2 separate regions of the Homo sapiens genome follow, and region 1 is linked to region 2. Evidence: promoter capture Hi-C in 16 types of primary human blood cells and fetal thymus (Javierre and others, 2016). All regions are on one chromosome and are shown on one strand. The core of a region is centred on a gene start or on the middle of the fragment in contact, and the rest is flanking DNA. Distances in the headings are between cores, read along the strand shown.

Region 1 (5,375 bases), core at 812-3,311, 1.1 Mb before region 2:
TAGTAGAGACAGCGTTTCGCCATGTTGGCCAGGCTGGTCTTGAACTTCTGATCTCAGGTGATCTGCCCACCTTGGCCTCCCCATGTGCTGGGATTACAGCCGTGACTCACTGCGCCTGGCCTCTCCTTTTTTCTTCTTTGGCCATTTCCCAATCTCCTTTGCTGATTCCTTCTCAACCTTGAAATGCTAGAGTGCCCTACGGCTCTGTCCCTGGCCATATTCAAGCCCATGACATCAAATACCATCCTTGTAATGGTGACTTATTTCTCTAATTCTGGCCTAGAACATTCCCCAAAAGTAACAGCCTAAACTTCACATGGCCCCCCAAAAAAACTCCCCCTCCCCAAAACCACCATCCCCAGTCTTCCTATATCAAGCAAAAAAATTCAGTTATATGGATTCTTCCTAATCTACTCATTCCTACTGACCTTCTCCATCTCATATCCATCCAACTCCTACCACCCTGACTCCCACCCTTATGCAAATCATTAAATCTTGCCTATATTACCATAATAGCTGTAATTTGTCTTTCCACTTCCCTAAAATCTTGTTTTCACACAGCAGACACAGTGATCTTTCCAAAATGTAAATCAGTCCCTGGTTCTCAAGCTAGGAAGATAGTGCCCACAGGGCAAATGTCTGGAAACACTTTTGGCTATCACAACTGGGTGGATGCTACTGACATCTTTTGGGTAGAAGTCAGAGTTGCTGATTAACATAAGACACAGGAAAGTCCCTCACAAAGAATTATCTGGCCACAACCTATCAATACTGCTGAGTTTAAGAAACCAAGCCTTGTATCATTCTTCTACAGCAAAAAGGGTGTGGAGAATGGAGGGCCACTGAAAGAACCAAACCTGAGCCCCTTTATGGGGGCCACGGCACAGCCCATTTAATGGCTTGGAAAATTCTCGGGGGGAAAGGTGGCTCTCCTCTACTTTAAACTTTTCAATGGCTTCTAACTTTATGTAGATTAAAATACAAATTCCTCATCCTGCTTTACAAAGCCCACTATGCTGTAGCCAGCCACTCTGTATTTCATCAGTCTCTGAATTGGCCAAACTTATTCCTTTTGCAGCTGTTTCTTTTGCTTGGAATGCTTTTGTACATGATCTTTGTGTGGCTTAAATGTCAGCCCCTCAGACACCTCGTTACCCAGTCATATTACATCACCGCTTATTTTCTGTAGCACCCTCACCACTATTTCATCTTTCAGCCCATCTCCAGTGCTGCAACGTGGACTTCCTGAAAGCAGAGATCTTTTTTTTTTTTTTCTCACTGCTGTCTAGTTCGCCCTCAAACAGTGCCTGACTTATAGAAGTGCTCAGTAAATAACAGTGATTAAATGAATGAAAAACTGTGAAGTCTGACGATTATCATATACCTAAGTGAAGACAGAATGGACAAATGAATATGCCACTATACGGTTCTGGCAAGAGGTATAGGTTAACAAAGAAAAATAACTTCAGGATTAAAACTATATTAAAAGCCACAGGTCTGGATAAGATCATCTAGGATGAAAAAATAGTCTTTTTAAATCAATACACCATTTATTAACCTGAGCAGCAGAGAAGGGGCTCGGAAAAGCACCTGCTCTGAGACCCTTACTGGAGCCCCAAAACTTCTCTCCTTAAGGAGCCCTCGGGGAGAGAAAAAAGCCTTCCAAACAGGCTTATGCCTTACACCCCCCCCCCCCCATTCTCCGTCTGTCTCCGAGCACAGGGGCCCCACGCACCTCTGGGGGATCCATCCTGGGGTGCGGCGACCCTCTTGGTAAGCAGCGAGCGCCTGGGTCCGCCGGCCTGGGTCTGCAGCCCGTATGAGAACTGCGGCGGGTCGTTCCAGCCGCGTTCCTTGTTGCCTGCGGAGGCGAGGGATGTGTGAAGCGAGCCCGGAACTCCACTGTTAGCTTATACTGGGGCTGGGGGAGACAGAGGGTCCATACTAAGCGCCGCAACCGCCCCCAGCCTAGGCCGGGGCGACAACCTAGTGCCCTAGCCCGCCGGCTGCGCTCACCCGGCTTCACGTACAGCTCCGCCATCTCCACTTCCGCTTGGCCAGCGGGGCAGCGCGTCATTTCCGGGGCGGCCCCTCACGCGGGCCAGTTGAGACACGTCCAGGGCCAGGCGGGTTGCCGGAATCCGTGGAGGATGGATGCTGGTTCACAACCGTCGGGAGCCGCTGTGGGGACCCTGCGGCAACTCCCTAAGACTCGAAGGCTCCATCTAATGAACCATCAGGGCCCTGGTCACAAGGCACCAAAGGAGGTTGCTGTCCAGGAGCCAGTGCTCTAGGAGGCCTCATCCTCTCAGGAGCAAATTCAAACAAAGAAGCTCCTGCCCCACATACACCCCGCTGTGATCTAGCCAGGTTGACTTCTACAGCCTCCTCTTGCATTGCCCTGCACAATCTCCACATTCACGTCCGGTAGCCTCACTAGTACTCATCTTCCTTCAGTTCTCAGTTCAGATGTCAGTTCTTCAGGAGGCCTTCTGGAATGTCTCAGGCCAGGTTAAGTGTCTCACTTGAGCTCCCACGACCCTACAACCCTCTGAGATTTCGTAGGTGTATTACATCACATCTTCTGCCTTATTTGACTCTTGTTCGTTTCCCTGTCGGACAGTCTTAGAAGGTGGGACCTTGACTATTTTATTACATTCCCAGTGCCCAGCTTAGTGCCTGGCACAGGGAACTCCTTAGAAAATATGTTTGTTGAATGAAGTCAGATCTCCATCACACCCATGCTGTCATGTGACTACAGAGAGCCACCAACATCAAGCACAGACACAAAGACACTCATCTCACACAGGGTGTTAGCCCCCAGCCCTGTCCCAGGCCCAATATACTCACATCCAGTGAGGTCACTGAGGGATTTTTATTTGCACTGATTTTGCTATAAAGTGTTACTGAGGTAGAGCCAACTGTCCAGGGTTGGACAGGGGCAAGGAACACAAGGACCCAAGGAAAGGGGAGCCAGGGTCCTACGTTGTGGTGCAGTGCCTCCCAGTCATCCGTATAAACAATAAATTGGGCAATAAATAGACGGTGGACAAGGATCGGAGGGACAGGCAGAGAAGGCTTCAAGGAGTGACAGGCTATAGGCCTTGAGGAATAAAACGGTACAGAGTTAGGCATGGACCCAGAGCCTACTTCCCCAGCCTTCCCAGATAAGTTTAGGGCATATGGAGCAGAGAGGGTTTCAGCCGGAAGGCATCAAGAAAAGAGAAGACACCCCGCTTTCGAGGGGTTGCCCCTGCACCGCCAACCCCTCCTTTGAGCAGGGGGAGGGGCAGGGGACCTCCTGGGGAATCCATGGAGCTGGTCCGCTTGAGCCGCAGGCGGGCACGGGCCTGGGCACCCCAGGCCTTGCCTCGAGCTGCAGAGGCCACAAGACACTTCTGGTACTGAACCTAGGGAGAAGGGGAATGTGAGGATCCAGCTACTTTCTGCCTCTAGACTCCCTGAAAGCTTCTGCAGGACAGGGAACTGGCCAAAGCTTCTGTCTGATAACAAGGTTGGTAGTCAGCCACATGTGGAGTTTCTAGAGCATTCCCAGGTAGCTCAATAACAAAATCATAAAACATGTATCAGACACTTAAGGAGGGCAGGCTGGACACTGCTAAGTGCTTTGTATAATTCAGTTATTTATGAGGGGTTATTATCCCTGTTTTGCAAAAGAGGAAATTGAGATTCAGAGAGTATATGACTTGCCCAAGGTCACACAGCCAGAGAAAGGCAGAAATGGCATTCAAACCTAGTTCTCTCTGATTGCAGAGCCTAAACTCTTAATTACATGTACCACTATGTTGCCTCTTTTCCATCTCTCACTGGTGGGGACTAGTCCCTGGCAAAGCAGATTCCCTAGTCAAGGGTAAAGGTGTACAACTCAAACTCCAGCCCCAATGCAACTGCTCCCAGTCATCTCATCTGAACAGCTCAAAGGTGTCCTAATTGGCCTTCCTACCTCCTATTACGTCCTCCAAATCTTTTACCCATACTATAGCTTAAGTGGTCATCCTAATCCATAACCCTGACTTCACTCTCGGGCTCCAGTGCTTCCTAGTGCCTCCAGATAAACTCATCACCCTGACCTATGAGGTCCCCCAAACCTGGCTTCTGTCATTCTCTCTGATCTCACCTCTCACTACGTCCCCCTTGCATGCCAGATACACTAGATTCTTTCAGATACTCTCATCCACTAATATCTCTCACCTTCACAGCTAAGGTTCCCTGTGCTTGGTACACCTGCCCCACTCCCCTTCACCTGGCTAACTTCCCTCTTGGACTGTCGGATTTCTATCACCTCTTACAGGTAGCCTTCCTGACCCCTAAAGGGGCCACCTCTTCCATCAACCAGTGGTGTACAACTTATTTCTGGTCTATCTTGGCTCTATCCTAAGTGTTTTGTGAAGGCAAGGGCTGTGCCCTCTACAGCACTAAATTCTCAGGGTCAGCTATGGTGTCTGGGACCCTGTAGGCACCCATATTTGTTGAATGAATGGGCAAACTGAACTAACGAAGTATAAGCAACCCACACTCAAATGCCCACAGATGCCAGGAAATAAACCTAAATGAGACAAACAGGAACAATGCCAACTCTTTAGGGCACAGCTTCTGCACAACTCTGGCTGCATGCTGACACTTACACGTGTGAACTGAGTGCCAGAGCTCTTGATATTTTAAGAAAAACAAGAATAGCGATTATTATGTGAAATGTCCTGGCCTTTAAATATTGGCAACTAATTAAAACTTACTAAAAACAACATGAGGGCCAAAACATTAATGAACCAGAATCAGCCCAGGTTTGTGATCTCTGAAGAGGCTGCCGACCCGGAGCCCAAGTAAACAGTGGAGAGCAGCTGCAGGGCAATCCCACCAACCCATTCCCACCCATGACTCACCATACAGGCAGCCTGCACAGCTTCAGAGAGTCCCCCTGCATGGGGCTGGCACCAGAAGGCTGCGCACTGGAAGCTCTGACGGCCCAGGTCAGCGATGAGGCCAAAGGTGTGTGGGTCGCGGCCAACACCAATAAATGTCACAAGGCGCACAGGGCACTGCCACAATGGCTCCTCCTCTGTACTGGCCTCTGCCTGCCCACACCAGGCCTAGTCACTAGAGGGCCAAGCACGGGCCAGACCCACTTAACTTTTCCGACAGCAAGCAGTGACCCCTCAGCATCCCTGCTCACCCCTCCAAAGCCCCCAACTTCACCCTCTTCTGGTACCTGAATGGGGTGTGCAGTCATGAGAGAGTCAGACACACTGAGCATGGTGGGGACCCAGGCATTCCGGTCCCCCCTGGCGGTGAGGGTACCAATGGCCTCGTTCAGCACATCCATGCCTGGGGGAACATACCCAGCGTGTCTCCCAGTG
Region 2 (6,259 bases), core at 1,171-3,670:
AATGCTCCTCCTCATCTCTCATTTCCACAGAGTTCTCATAAAAGGAGCAAGAGGAAGAAAGAATATTCTGATGCCTTGAGATAGGTTACATTTGGCAATAAAAGGGTTAAGCAGCACTACTTTCCTAGAAACCTTCCAATTCCGTAGCTACTAATGCAATTTTCCTCATTACCTGAGCTATTTAGTTTTAAAAATTCAGCAGATTAAGGGTTAAGACTAACACCGCAGAAAGAAAAGAGAACTTGGTTCAGCTCCATCCTCTCTAAAGCAAATACCTACAACCCTGAGCCAAATCCATTAAACATATAGAAGACTTCATGGACATTCCAAAAGACAGGTGAAAAGGGGTTGAGCTTCCTCAGGTTTCTCACCTTACAGTACCACACACATAGTAGACTTCACAAGTTCGTGAAATAATTGTTAGATAAAATAGAGTACATATAAAATTCTACTCAAGACATGAAAACAAGTCACTGAGGTCACCACAAGTCAGCAGCAATAGCTGGAATTTGGGTGAGGAAGGTCAAACAGTACTCATGGAAATAAAATCAAAACAAAAAGATACAGAAATAGAAGGAATATGAGCCCTAGAACTTAAGTTTTGGAAGGAAAGCTAACGGGGGGGAGGGGTCAATTCTTATCCTAAAGAAACATACAAAAATGCTGCTTTAGTCACCAAAGAAGGAGGGGGTGTCAATACCCTTAACCTTATATTTCTAGGGGGGGAAAAAAAGATGTTCACCAGATAAAAACAGATGGTTACTGACATCTCAGATATCACTGGAAAGGGCAGTCCAGGAGCACTTGGTCTTGCTAGAAATAGGAAGAGATGAGTCACTATTTTAATTCTATTTAGAATTAAACATCTAACCCTCCAGGGTTAACATCTCAACCCTCTAGGTCATAAAACAACATTTTCTTCCTGTTTCCATCGCTTTATCAGTTTTCTTCCCAAATTTGTGGAGCTGGGTCAAAATGTTGGGAGGTGGGACTAAGAGTTACAAGCCATTTGTTTAGTAGAAAGATACACTAGTGTAAGGGCATAAATACCTGGAAGAGAAGACAAAAGAGCTACAGTTATAACTAGCTATTATAATGATCATCAATATCCAAGACTTTTCCTCTCCTGGACAGTGCCCCGTATCTTACAAAGCTTTTATAGCAAAAAAGCAACCAAACGGCTCCCTGGAGAGAGGCGTTGGTGTGGGCAAAAGGTAATGAAATATGATAGGGTTACATGTATATCACTATTCCTTCACTCGGATTGAAAGTAACTGGCACTTGAGGAAAGCTTACTCTTCTACAGGCACGCAAAGGGAAGCCGATAGTCGCCTTGGGGCACAAGAGGCAGTAGAAAAGGAGTAGAGGAGACGGTTATCATGGGAAATGTATAAAAAACAATTCAATTACAAACTTCTTGAACTCGCAGTCCAACTTTCTTCCCACAGGAGAGGTTTATCACCATCCTAGGTCAAGAAGGGCACAATCATGAGAGTTCTAATCCTCTGAAAAGTGATAAGCAACAGGGCAAAGAGAGAGGTTCTCTGGAGAGAGGAATACTGGTAAACAAATAAACGTCATGCCCCAGTGACCATAGGACCTGGGCAGGAGCCCATTCCTGTAATCGCAAGGACAAACGTCCAAAGAAGGAGTTGGGGGTAGGGCTCAAGTCAGGTAACATTCCTCAGGGGAAGGATTATCAAGTGACACCGGGCGGAGGGCCCACGGGGGACTGGGCGGGAGGAAAGTTAGCAGGTAAAAAGGATGAATCATGGAGAAGGAAGTGACCTTTAGGAGAAGGAAATACGAGAATACCAAAAAAGGTGTAAGGTTAAGAAGAGAAAATGGACCCAGAAGAGGGGACCAAAAAAGAGGAGGCGTGTTCGGGTACTGGAGGAAGAAGAAAGGAAGTGAGGCTGAGAGGGGAGAGACGGGGCTGAGAGCCGGCCGGGGATATGCGGGCGGGAGGGCAGAATGTAAGGGCTGGGGAACGAGGGAAGCCCCGAGGTGGCCGGGGCAAGAGCCGGGTGGGATTCCGGGGCTTCCCGAGGTCCCGAAGGGAGAGGATGTCGGGCTGCAGAGCTGCGGACCGAGCGAAACGAGGAAGGAAGGCGCGGGGGCGGCTCCCCAAAGCCGGGCAGGCGCCCCAGGGGCCGGCTGCAGGGGTCCAGAGGGCGGTTACGGGGCCAGGCAGGAGCGGGATGGGAGGGACACTCACAAATTTCTTAGATTTGCCGCCGTCGCCGCCCGCCGAGGGCAGCTCATCTGGGCTCCGGCCCTTCTTCTTGTCCCGGGTCCCGCGGCCGGGCCCCAGGCTCCCGCCGGGCGGCTCCATGTCCCGGTTCACGCTGGCCGGCGACCCCGCGCCTACGCCGCTCCCGCCTGGCAGCTCCGCGCCCGCCGCCGCCCAGTCGCTCTTTAGCCAGCCGCCGCGCCCCGCCTCATTAGCATGCCGGGCTGCGCGCGCCTCATGAATATACAACGACGACGCCTCGCTCCCGCCCGCCTGCCCCACTTCCGCCCGGACCCGCAGCCCCTACCAATGGGGGAAGGGAGAGGGGCGGAGGGAAGCCGCGGAAGCGCGCTACCTGCCCAGCGGACCTAACCATTCGGACCCACGTGGGGGGGGGTGGTGAGTGGGCGGTGCAGCTCTCCGCGGCCGCGGCGGAGAGCACCGCCCCCTGGCGGTTGGAGCAGCGCAGGCCTCTGGCTCCCACGCAGCGCCCACGTGGCTGTACAGCCTGACAGCCTGGACCCTCTCACATCCCAGACCAAAAATCGCGTGAGACCATTATCCTGGCAGAAAATTAGTGACAGGTTTTCCAAGAGAATGCAGTTTTCAATGTGTGCAATACCCATGGAACACATGAAAAAAATTATAGTGATAGCCACCATGTTTTGAAAGCAAGGTAGCAAGAACAGAGCTCGGTCCAGGGCAAGCACTAGACTAAACCAGACTCGCTCTGGAGTTTAATTTCCTAGTTCGAATTCCAGGTTAGGTACCATCTAATTGTTTCTAATCAGGACAAACTAATTATTGCCAACATGTGCCTAAACAGCAATAACAGTTACCACTTAACCATGCCCTTTGCTCTCTGCTAGGCACTAGGCAAACACTCTACATGTATTTTTCTAAGTCCCCACAGTCCCATGTGATAGATTCTGCTAGCCTCACCATTTTATAAATAGTAAATTTGGACTTTTGAGAGTTGAAGTGACTTGCCCAAGAACGCATAATTGATATAAAATTTAAACCCAGCTTAGTCTGATTTGCTGCCAAACCCTATGTTTAACCAGGATTCCCCACTGACATAAACCAAACATGAGTGAAAAGAATGAGTATTCTCCAAGAGTATATTCTTTGCTCTTCTAGCATGACTTTCTCCCTAAGCAATTTCATCCATTCTCCCAGCTACATCTGTCCCTTGTGTGACAGTTACGTGGCTACCAGTCGGCCTTCACAATATGGACTGAATATTCTTGACCACAGCTAGCAAGATTTCAAGCATAAGTTCCTGAAGGGCAGAGTCAGTGACTTACTTACTCTAGAGCCCCAGTACCTAGTCAAGGGCCTGAGATATACCAGGGACTCTGCCAAGCTGGCTGGCTCCTAAATTTGGCATTCATCTCTCTTGTGGTCCAGACCTTCTGATGGTGATCGGATAGAATGTTACATAGAGCTGTCCATCCCATACTTCAAACTTGACTTAGTGCTGAGCTTTCCAGACATTTTGTCTAAAAAGTCCAAAAGCTACTTTCTAAGCTAGTGTTGAGAACAGACAGAATCAGAGAATGGAGGGGAGGAAGTGACCCATCTATCAGTCCTCTTTCTTGTATCAGTCTGTATCTGCTACAATATTTATCATACTACTGACTGGAATGTAAACTCTTCTAGAGAAAGGTTCATGTTTGTGGCTACTACAGTATTTAGCATTGTTCTTCACATAGACAGATAATGGGCAACTTCTTCTGTCAGGCACTGTGCTAAGCACTTAACATGTTTTATCTCAGTGTATCTTCACCAACTAGCATCACTACTCTAAACACCCAGATTCAAAAACCTGAAGTCATCTTCTACTCCTCTCAAATCTGCCCAGGTTTGTCTAACTCTTAACCAAAATCCTCTATTAACTTCTTATATTTACAATAATAAATGTAGAATACATACACAGGGCCTAACGTAGGATAAGTGCTGAATGAATGTTAACTATGCTTTTATTACATGCATCATCATGCCCATTTCCCTCTCCTTTCATAAATAGGAAACTAGCAAGAATTAACATTCCTAGAAAGGCGAAAGGTACAAAAAATACCGACTTAGTTTATTGGATAAAAACAGTGGTAAAATGGACATAAAGCCAAAAGTGAGAACAGAACATTTTCATATCCTCCCCACACTTGAAAACATACTTCCCATCATCTGGGATTCAGGTGTTAGGGAGCCAGAGCCCCTTCCAAATCTCTCTCTCTTCATCTTCCCTGGAAGCAAGGGGAGGAAGAAGTCAGAACCCAGGGGAGGAGGAAGTCAGAGGCAATCTCAGTCCTTGTCTACCCGTTCATCCCTCAAAAATCTCTGGGTTCGAGGGAAGCAGGGAAGAAATAAGGGGCAAGGGGGGCTAGGGACTGGCCTCCAGGGCCCACTGCCAATAATGTCCCAGATAGCTATCCTTGTCTGTATCTCATCCCTAATAGGTACCATTGTCAGGCCTTGGGAGAGAGAGGAAAAGCAGGTAGATGGTTCGAGAACCAAATGTGGTCTCCAGACTCTTTCCCAGAGTCAGCAAAAGCCCTGGGGTGACCCCCAGGACTCTAGGAGCCACTCCTTTTCCCTCCAGCCCAACCAAGAGGTGAAAAGAAATTCCTTGGGACACAGCATCCCAAGCCACTCTTAAATCTCCACATCGCTTTCCTTGTCATTGTCATGGTCTCCATCATAGAACTCATTGGGTGCCTCTGGCCTGCAAAGCAAGGGGAGAGAGGTCAGGATCTCACTCTAAGTTCTAATCTTCTCCCAGCACCCTTTTCCAAAGCCATTTCTCAGGCCCCGTTGAGAACCACTCCTCCTCTTGTTGGTAGAGACTGCTATTCATTCACCCATTCACGTATCAAATAAACATTAAGGAACTACTCTATACAGACACTGTCATAAACCTTAGCAATACAGTAGAGTAACAAGCTGGACAAGGTTGTCTATCCTCAAAAAGCTTACCTAATAAATGAGACTAGTAACTAACAAAGTAAATAAATATAATAATTTCAGATGATGGAGAGTACAATTAATAAAATGAAGTGATAGGACTGAAGGTGATGAGAGGAAAAGGGTGAAATTTCAGACAGGACTATTGGGACATAAGACCTAAAGTCTGAGGAGGAGCTAAGCAGGCAAAGACTTCAGGAAGGCCATTCCAAGCTGCAAGAAAACCAACTACAGAGGTCATGAAATGGAAAGAGACTGATGTATTCCAGTAAGAACAAGGAGGCCAGGACAGCCGGGAGCACTGTGCATGGAGGAGAGTAGTTAGAGATGAGATCCTGGATGTAGGTAAGGGCTAGCATGCAGGACCTTTTTAAGCCACAGTCAAAATTTTGGATTTTCTTCTAAGTGCAAGGTAAAGGAGAGTTTTAATTTTAAGAAGAGTGACGTGGTATTATAAACCCATAGTGAAAGAATGGATGTGAAAGCAAAACAGGGCCCAACAGGTACTCAATATTGGTTTCTTTCTTTTTGAAAAAGTATTCTCAAAAGCCGGGCGTGGTAGCTCACACCTGTAATCCCAGCACTTTGGGAGGCCAAGGCAGGTGGATCACAAGGTCAAGAGATCAAGACCATCCTGGCCAACATGGTGAAACCCCGTCTCTACTAAAAATACTAAAGTTAGCCGGGTGTGGTGGCACATGCCTGTAATCTCAGCTACTGAGGAGGCTGAGGCAGGAGAATCGCTTGAACCTGGGAGGCGGAGGTTGCAGTGAGCCGGGATTAGCCACTGCACTCCAGCCTGGCAACAGAGTGAGACTCCATCTCAAAAAAAAAAAAGAAAGAAAAGAAAAAGTATTCTCTGGGACACAGAGAATTGAGAAAGTCATCAAAGAGAAGCTGAGGCACTAAGCCAGGAAAGGCCTTATCTGCATGGTGAGCAATGTCTCAGTTACTTCTAAGTGCACAGGGTTAAAGGTGTGGAGTCAGAGAATCAGGTTGAATCTCAGCCCTGATCTTTAACTAGCCATGTGACCTTCAGAAAGTTACTTAAGTCTCGCCGGG

The links. Contacts are between HindIII fragments. The CHiCAGO score rates a contact against its expected background, and 5 or more counts as called.
Region 1: the fragment with the promoter of SRA1 here is called in contact with the fragment with the promoter of DIAPH1 in region 2 in 2 of 17 cell types (neutrophils and non-activated CD4 T cells); the score reaches 7.6 in neutrophils.

What each region holds. Positions count from the first base shown.
Region 1 is chr5:140,555,412-140,560,786 of GRCh38, forward strand. It overlaps SRA1 (steroid receptor RNA activator 1), which reads right to left and starts at 2,062. Exons shown (of 5, transcript NM_001035235.4): 1 at 2,017-2,062; 2 at 1,736-1,861. The coding sequence starts at 2,041. It overlaps APBB3 (amyloid beta precursor protein binding family B member 3), which reads right to left. Exons shown (of 13, transcript NM_133173.3): 11 at 5,228-5,343; 12 at 4,902-5,093; 13 at 2,857-3,410. The coding sequence ends at 3,174. RefSeq lists a silencer at 622-771 and enhancers at 1,295-2,116, 1,982-2,341, 2,432-2,491. The HindIII fragment of the contact is 6,646 bases long and covers 1-3,466 here.
Region 2 is chr5:141,616,580-141,622,838 of GRCh38, forward strand. DIAPH1 (diaphanous related formin 1) reads right to left here and starts at 2,421. Exons shown (of 28, transcript NM_005219.5): 1 at 2,219-2,421. The coding sequence starts at 2,335. HDAC3 (histone deacetylase 3) reads right to left here. Exons shown (of 15, transcript NM_003883.4): 15 at 4,302-4,958. The coding sequence ends at 4,889. RefSeq lists silencers at 1,999-2,195, 2,006-2,055, 2,116-2,775. The HindIII fragment of the contact is 3,913 bases long and covers 1,290-5,202 here.